Regions from separate parts of the Homo sapiens genome. Here region 1 is linked to region 2. The links are contacts of gene promoters, found by promoter capture Hi-C in blood cells and fetal thymus (Javierre and others, 2016). All regions are on one chromosome and are shown on one strand. The core of a region is centred on a gene start or on the middle of the fragment in contact, and the rest is flanking DNA. Distances in the headings are between cores, read along the strand shown. Region 1 has its middle 110 kb from the start of LINC01910. Region 2 holds the start of SOCS6 (suppressor of cytokine signaling 6).

Region 1 (4,053 bases), core at 110-2,609, 200 kb after region 2:
AGTTTGTAACATGTTCCTACTAAGTGAAGGAACGGTGCTCTGATAAGCACTGGGCAGAATTGAAGAAGTATGACATTCTCTGATCACTTAATCCATGCTCAATTTGACTAGCAATTTTATTTAGGTTTATTGCTTGCTATATAATATACTTAGTTGTATAAGTAAGATACAGATTAATAGTATTTAAATATTACTTTGGAAGCTTTTAAGGGAAATAATTCTAATTCTGAATAATACTAAATAGCTCTGCAGCATGTTGGGATTTAAATATAGATTCAGTCACTACTGTAGATTAAGTCATGATTTGTCTTTTAAAATTGGAAAGCGAGTTAACTTTTGCCCATTGGTTCTCTTTGCAGTGAGTGACCGCCTGGGTACCTGTGGGCATCTGCATTCCACATTGTGTCTGCAGTGCCCTCTTGTGGCCATGCATCTTTATGCAGATAGAGTCTTCCTCTACTACTATCTTTTGGGGCTTCTTCCATTTCGCTTTGCATTGGTGAGGCTACTGGAATAGGACTTACTTGAGCCCGGTTCATTATCTACAAGTAGGATATTGGTACCAGACAGCACTAGGAAGACTAATACAATCTTGGAGGAGGTACTTCATAGCTTGATGTTCTAAAGATTAGCTTTAAGTCATTACATTTTTGGTCATTTATTTAAAGTGATTATTCCTCATAAAATATGGTTATTATCAAAGAGCCTTTCTCCATTTGTCCCAGATCAACAATGACTGGTAAGAGGTTCAGTACAGAAGAGTCATCATATACAGTCCTAACCACCTCTGGCCTGATCTATTTTACACTGGGGCATGACTGGCATTGACTCCAGTCTTCCACGGCCTAAATAAGATTAGTACTCTGAACACAGTAAGAACTTTGTGATTCCACCTCAGTTCCACCCAAGGCAAGGGGAATACTTCCCCCATTTCACAGACGTTTATATGGTGTCTTTTAGGGAAGAGGCAAAACACAGATTGTTATGGTTAAGACCTGAGTTCTGTAGTCAAACCTAGGCCAGCCCATAGCAAACTTTGTGAATCCAGGCAAAGAATTCAACTTTACTGCCTTCATTTTATCATCTGCATACTGGGGAGAGTAACAGGTTGCTCTGAAGATTAAGTGCCAACAGGCCTGTGAAACATTGAACAGTCATTATTAGTTACTGGTGCTAAAATGCAATTGGTGCTAAAATGGGACTTTTCTATACATTTTTTGATTTTAAATTAATAGACTTTAGTTTTTAGAACCATTTTAGGTTTACAGAAACATTGAACAAATAGTACAGAGATTTGTCATCTATTCTTCCTTGTACAGTTTCTTCTATTAACATCTTCCACTAATATGAGACATTTGTTATAATTCATGAACAAATATTAATACATGGTTATTAACTAAAGTCCATAGTTTACTCTGGGTGTTGTATACTCTGTGGGTTTTGATGTGACTAATGACATATATCCACCACTGTAATATTATACAGAATATTTTCATTGCCCTAAAAATCCTCTGTGTTCTGCCTGTTCATCCCTGCCTCTCTGCTGCTCCTGGCAGCCCCTGATCCTTTTACTCTCTGGATAGTTTTGCCTTTTCCCGAATATTGTACAGTTGGAGTCATGCAGGATAAAGGCCTTTCTGGCTGCCTCCCTTCATTTAGAAATTTGCATTTAAGTTTCCTCCATGTCTTTTCGTGGGTTGATAGCTAATTTCTTGTTATTTTTGAATAATATTTCATTGTCTGGCTGTACCACAGTCTGTCCACTCACCTTTATTCCTATAGTATTTTAACTGCTTCCTTTCCTGTGGCGCCCACTACTGTGAGCCAATGGAGGAAGAATGCTGCAGTACATCCAGTACTATAGCCTTAGAATCTGGGACAATACTCGTTAAATAATAGCTCTTCAATAAGTATTTGTCTAAGTAAGAGAAGTTGAAAGAAAGAACTTTTGAATTGGCCACAGTAGCATTTATTTTGGTAGTGGTGCTAAGGGACAGGGCTTCCAAAGGGCTGTCAAAAGTGAATCCAGTTATTAGTCTGCTTTCTTCTTGGAACCTGAAGGGCTTGGTGATCCTGGGAGCACACTCCCTGCTGCGGAGCCTACGGTGCAGCAACACACTTCCCAGGGAGCTGCACTGGGCCACGGACACGCGTCAGTGGGCATGCCAGCTGGACGTGTATTTCCAGCCGTTCTAGCAACTTCTGCTGTCAGGAGGGACCCCTGTGTTCCTCGGAAGATGGCTCAGTGGTGACTGTCATATCTCTGCCTAGAGAAGAGTTAGTGTGGTCGGGGGATGTGGAGAAGAACTGGCATAGGATGTGATCAGTCATAGTTCCCTGGGGATCCTTATAAATCCATCTGTAAACCATCGAGTGTTTATGGATAAAATCATGGCAGTAAAGTATTTATTATTTAATGACTGCTGCAGGGGAAGTTTTAGAATTTTCACTGGCAAGGTAAGGGAGTATAATTTGTGTTGTAGGTGGTGGTGAAGGTTACTCCTAAAATCAACATTATAAGCTTAAAAAAAAAGAGAAAGGAAGAATAGTGTTTGGTATAAAAGTGACCTGAAAGAAAACTGTCTGAAAGGTTTTTGTTAACAGAGGAAAAATGTTTCTTCCATGGACTCATGTGTTCAGAGAAATTGTTCAATTCAAGGAGAGAAAAAGATTCAATATACAATTATTCTTACTCAATTGTTTTTTTTTTTTTTAAGAGACATGGTCTCACTTTGTTGCCCAGGCTGGAGTGCGGTGTCATGATCATAGCTCACTGTGGCCTTGAACTCTTGGGCTCAACTGATCCTCCTCCCTCAGCCTCCTGAGTAGCTGGGACCAAGGCATGTGCTACCATGCATGGCTAATTTTTTTCTTTTAATTTTTTTGTTTTTAGAGATGGGGTTTTGCTTTGTTGCCCAAGCTGCTCTTGAATTCCTGGGCTCAAGAGATCCTCCCACTTTGGCCTCCCAAAGTGCTGGAATTACAGGCGTGAGCCACCTCACCAGGCCAATTTGTTGTAAATTGAAAAACAGAGGATCAGAGATCCATTCTGTGGCAGGGCATCATAAGGAGAGGCCTGCCCTTGAAAGACCTGTCCCAGCAGCTCAGAGTTCATGTGGGGAGGGCTCAAGGCAATTTTCAATCAATCAGTTATGAACTGGGTTGTTTTAGGCACCTCCTCCTATTCACCCTGGTGGTGATAGAGGGTTTCCCACCCTAGGGTTGTAGAGATGGCCAAACCCACGGCACCTGACACCGGACAGGTGTCCAGCAGGGGATGGGGGAGGTAGGCTTTGTAGTAACAAGAGGAGGAGGATGTGATTGGATGGGGGAGGTAGGCTTTGTAGTAACAAGAGGAGGAGGATGTGATTGGCTTGTTTGGATAACTCCATGGGTTGGCAGGAAACTGAAGCCCGCTACTCAGGGATATATGTGGTCCCATGATAAGGAGTGTCCTTTAGCTAGGGTATTTTTCCCACAGGAGGGAGGGAACTTGAGGTAAGGCCATTGAAGGCCCTCCTGGTTTCCCAGATGTCAAGACAGCATACAAAACTGCATCTTAATTTTAGGCCTTACACCCATGTGTGGGTTAGGGATGTCAAAGGGAGAGTAGCATGTGGAGGCTAATAAATTAAAAATAATTAAATGAGCCAGACGTGGTGGCTCACACCTGTTATCCCAGCACTTTGGGAGGCCGAGGCAGGCGGATCACGAGGTCAGGAGATCGAGACCATCCTGGCTAACACAGTGAAACCCTGTTTCTACTAAAAATACAAAAAATTAGCCGGGCATGGTGGCAGGCGCCTGTAGTCCCAGCCACTTGGGAGGCTGAGGCAGGACAATGGCATGAACCTGGGAGGCGGAGCTTGCAGTGAGCTGATATCACACCACTGCACTCCAGCCTGGGCAACAGAGCGAGACTCTAAAAAATAAATAAATAAATAAATGGCTAGCCAAAGTAACCAGATTCCTTTTTTTCCTCCTTATAAGAGGCAGCCTACATTTAAGGAACAGTTCCACTGTGCTCTCTGAGTCACTTTCTTTGAACTTCAT
Region 2 (4,105 bases), core at 343-2,842:
TTACAGGCAGCTGCCACCACGCCCAGCTACTTTTTGTATTTTTAGTAGAGATGGGGTTTCACTGTGTTGGCCAGGCAGGTCTCGATCTCCTGATCTTGTGATCCGCCCGCCTCGGCCTCCCAAAGTGCTGGGATTACAGGCATGAGCCACCGTTAATTACTGTTTGTTGTGTTTCCCACTAACTTCTCTGACAATTCTATTTCAACCTACATTCTCCAATCACTGTAATTAGATATTTGAGAATTGTGTTGCATTTCAATCACGGTAACAATAATGGTAGTATTTTATTAATAAATTCAAGTAAAAACTGAAGATGACAATGATAGTGTATGATACATGACATCAACTTTGCATCACCTAAAGATCCAACTTTTCTGTTATGAATCTAGATTTCTTGGGGAAATCCAGATTGTATATTGGACATAGGAATTAAGATTACTGGACTTGAACTTTTTTGTAACTAACAACTTTATTGAGATATAATTCGGGTACCAACTCATACCTGAACAGCTTTTTAGACTTTTTTTCTAGCCCTTTTTTCTCTGTCCTTTCGGTTTTCTTTTAAAAAGGTCCATACTATTCAAGAAACACAACTTTTAAAGTCCACAATAATTCTCATTAGATTTTAATATTTATCTCCCCCCAAGCTTTACTGAAATACTAATGATATTCATTTTTTTAACCACTTTTCATCGTAAGAGAAATACAAATTTTCCTATTGATTCTTATGCACAAAAATCAAGTTTTTGTGGTACTGCTATACATTAGTAGTATGTTCAGCCAGTTTCCAAAGAAATTAGTCAAGATCCCAACATGCAACTTGTATACCACACTACCTTGGAATTCGGCGGCACAAACAACTATTCCTTGTACAAAACCTCCCTGAAAACGACTAAATGGAAAAGTGGATGGCTTGAAACAAGGAATGTTTGGTTTTTTAAAAAGCATTTTTCACAATTTAGTCGAGGTGTGGGGAGGGTTTCCCCACTTGTGGCTCTGCACAGCGTGCGCGCGCGTCTGTCCTGGGGTCCCCTCCCTGCGGGGACGAGGCCGGGGTCCCCGCGCGAGCCCAGCGGACCTGGGCAGTGCGGGGGTCCGACCGCCCGCCACAGGGGGACAGGGACCGCAGCCGCCAAATCCGCGGGGCCGGGGAACGAGGAGACTTTCCTTTCCGCGTTAGCCGGGGCCACCCCCGCCAGAGGGAAAGCACCAAAGGAAAAACCAGGACAGGGACTCTGGGGGCCGGAGGAGCGGCCTCCTGCAGGCACCAGCGGAGGGGCGCGGGGGTGGGGGAAGGGATCAGGGCTCCGCGCTCCGTCCGCCCCACGACCCCGGCCCGGCGCCCCTCCCCTCGGAACCCCCACTTAGTGCCCGGCCCCCGCCCCGCCCCGCGCGGCCCCCGGCCTCAGCCCCGCGCGCCCCGACGCCCCGCCTGCGCCGCGGGCCCGAGTAGTGGACGGGGGGCGGCCCGCTCGGCTCCTCCGCACCCGCTCCCCGCTCGGGCCGAGGCGCCGCGGCCGCGCGCCCCTCCTGGAGGAGGAGGAGGAAGGAGGCGGGAGGAGGAGTTGCCGAGAGGAGAAGGCGAGCGCGGCAGTCGCGCCGGCGCTGGGCGAGGAAGCGGAGCCGGGCCGCCTCCGGGTAAGCGTCCGGGGAGCTCGGGCGGGAGGCAGGGGCAGGGCTTCGCCGTCCGCCTCCGGGTCGCCCGCGGTCCGGGACACGGCTGGTTTTCGCCTCGGAGTGCAGGGGGCGGATCCGGCGCGGGCCGGGCCAGGGAGGCCGCCGGGCGCGGGGCTGCAGCGACGGGTCTGGGTCAGCGCGAGGCCCTGCGCCGTCTCGGCGGGTGCGCGGGCGGGGGCCAGGGCCGGGGAACGGGGGCCGGGGCCAGTCCCGGGAGCGGGGACGCGGAAACCGGGAAGCCGGGGCCGGGGCGCGGCGGCCCCTGAAGGGCCGAGGCCTGCGCGGCCGCGGACGGCTCTTCTCGACCCCTCGGCCTCTTCGGCCGCGGCGCGCCGGCCTGGGCCGCCGCCTTTGTTGCCCGCAGCTCGCCGGGGAGAGGCCGGGGCTCCGCGAGGCCTGGGCAGCGGCGCGGGGCCTGCGCGGCTCTGCGCCCCGGCCGGGTCCCTCCTCGGACCTCCGCGGGCTCGGGCTCGGGCTCGGGGTCGGGGCGCGGCGAGGCCGCAGGCGCGAGGGCGGGCCTGGGGCGCGGCGCTGGGACTCGGGGACGCCCCCGCCCCACCGCGAGGTCGCGCCGGCGCTGGTGGAGGTGCAGGCCGGGGCTGCTCTGCGGCTGAAGGTGCCGCCGGCCGGCTGCGCACTCACCCGGGTGTAGGGACCGGACGATTGTGGAATTTAAACCGCTCCTGGGACCGACACGGGCCTGAATTTTCAGTTTGCTTCGGGAGTTGGCAACTTCAGGTACACCCTTGTGGCTCACGGAGCAGAATTATGGACGTTTCTCAGGGGCAGATCCTGGCACAAAACTTGGGATATGTGCAGTAGTGTGTGTGCCAACTTAACGTTCAGTTGGAATGTGAAATTGGGGTTCCCATCCCCACTGTTTGGAATGAAGGGCCAGGTGGGAATATGTGGCGGGACTCAGTCTTCCGGTAGCAAAATAAATAATGTTGAATTCATTTCAACAAATGTTTCTGCAACGTCTGCCCGGATAAGGCAGCATGCACTGTGCATGAGGACAGAGAACACAGTAATGACAGAAATAACGTGAATTACACACTGAACGTCTCCCAGAGACATTTTAAATTTACTGTGTTCCTTGGGATAAAGATACATTTGGAATCAAACAAAAGTAAACGTTCTACTTCAAGATAAAATATCTGACATCTTCTCAACCACTGAAGGTAGCAATTTATCTTGACTTGTTTTTAACCAACTACCACAACATTAAATCCATTTAGCTTACTTGAATGAACGAATCTTAATTGTAATATTTAATGCTGTGGACAGCCTTACTTAAAAACACGAATGGCATTGCTCACCAGGTTTCACAAAAACCGGAAAAAAAGTCTGTAATACTTTTCCGTGGGCTTTCTAATTTCTCCTCCTAGTGGGTTTTGTGCACGCGTGGATATGGTAAGGTCTAGGATCCATTCAGCTCTAAATTAAATATGTGGCCTTAACCCTTTGGTTCAAACACCCTCCCTAAGCCTGCCTTGGTGCCTTGGAGGAACCTGGTTCGTGGACAGTGGATTTGATAAGGATTCCTAGAAGAACTTCTATCTGGAGTTTGGCCAGGGCTTTCCGCTTGTGCCTGGGTAAGGGTCAGCCAGGTATTCACCCGAATCTATACTTTTTTAGAACTCCATTCAGCATCTCTTTTGAAACACTGTTTCTCTCTTACCTTTATCGTTATCTTCTAAATTACCCTCTAAATTGGTAGTCTTGCCCCTTTCTCTTCAGCAGGGCCTCCCACCCAAGCGCACACCCTCGGGTCATCCCATGACCCCCTCTCTTGGTGGGCCCCCCACCCCGCAGGGAGTGGCAGGGAAGGAATTTGAGAGCCATTGACTGGGCGTAGGGTGGAAAATGGTGCTGTACTGACTGGGTTTCTAGTCATTTTGCCTTCCAGTGTTTTTCTTCATTCTTGCATTAGAACTGGAAAAGGTGTTCTTTTAATGGCCCCCCTTTTTTTAGGAAACAGAAAGCAAGTATCTTCTTTTTTGTTTTTCCTCTGTCACCCAGGGTGGAGTGCAGTGGTGCAATCATGGCTCACTGCAGCCTTGAACTCCTGGGCTCAAGTGATCCACCTCCCTCAGCCTCCTGAGTAGCTTGGACCACAGACATGTGCCACCACACCTGGCTGATTGTTTTTTGGAGAGGTGGGGTCTTGCTGTGTTGCCGAGGCTGGTCTCAAACTCTAGGCCTCAAGATCCTCTCACCTCAGCCTCCCAAAGCCCTGGGATTACAGGCACGAACCACCACACCCAGCCTGCAAGTGTCCTCTTAAGCCTTCTTGTGTAACTACACTCCTTAGAGAAAAATCTTGCTAGTTTTCTCCATTATGGCCAGTTTTCAGGAAACTTTTGGGTTATTGATCATATCTTTTATTTTGCTCATAGAGGTGTGATCTTATTTAAAAGTCCAAACA

Evidence for each region. Contacts are between HindIII fragments. The CHiCAGO score rates a contact against its expected background, and 5 or more counts as called.
Region 1: a fragment that was not itself captured here is called in contact with the fragment with the promoter of SOCS6 in region 2 in 2 of 17 cell types (monocytes and M2 macrophages); the score reaches 7.8 in monocytes.

Annotation. Positions count from the first base shown.
Region 1 is chr18:70,491,515-70,495,567 of GRCh38, forward strand. No RefSeq gene overlaps it. Among named protein-coding and RNA genes, the nearest start is that of LINC01910, 110 kb to the left of the region's middle. The HindIII fragment of the contact is 2,319 bases long and covers 201-2,519 here.
Region 2 is chr18:70,287,453-70,291,557 of GRCh38, forward strand. It overlaps SOCS6 (suppressor of cytokine signaling 6), which reads left to right and starts at 1,593. Exons shown (of 2, transcript NM_004232.4): 1 at 1,593-1,638. RefSeq lists a silencer at 1,429-2,328. The HindIII fragment of the contact is 7,416 bases long and covers 646-4,105 here.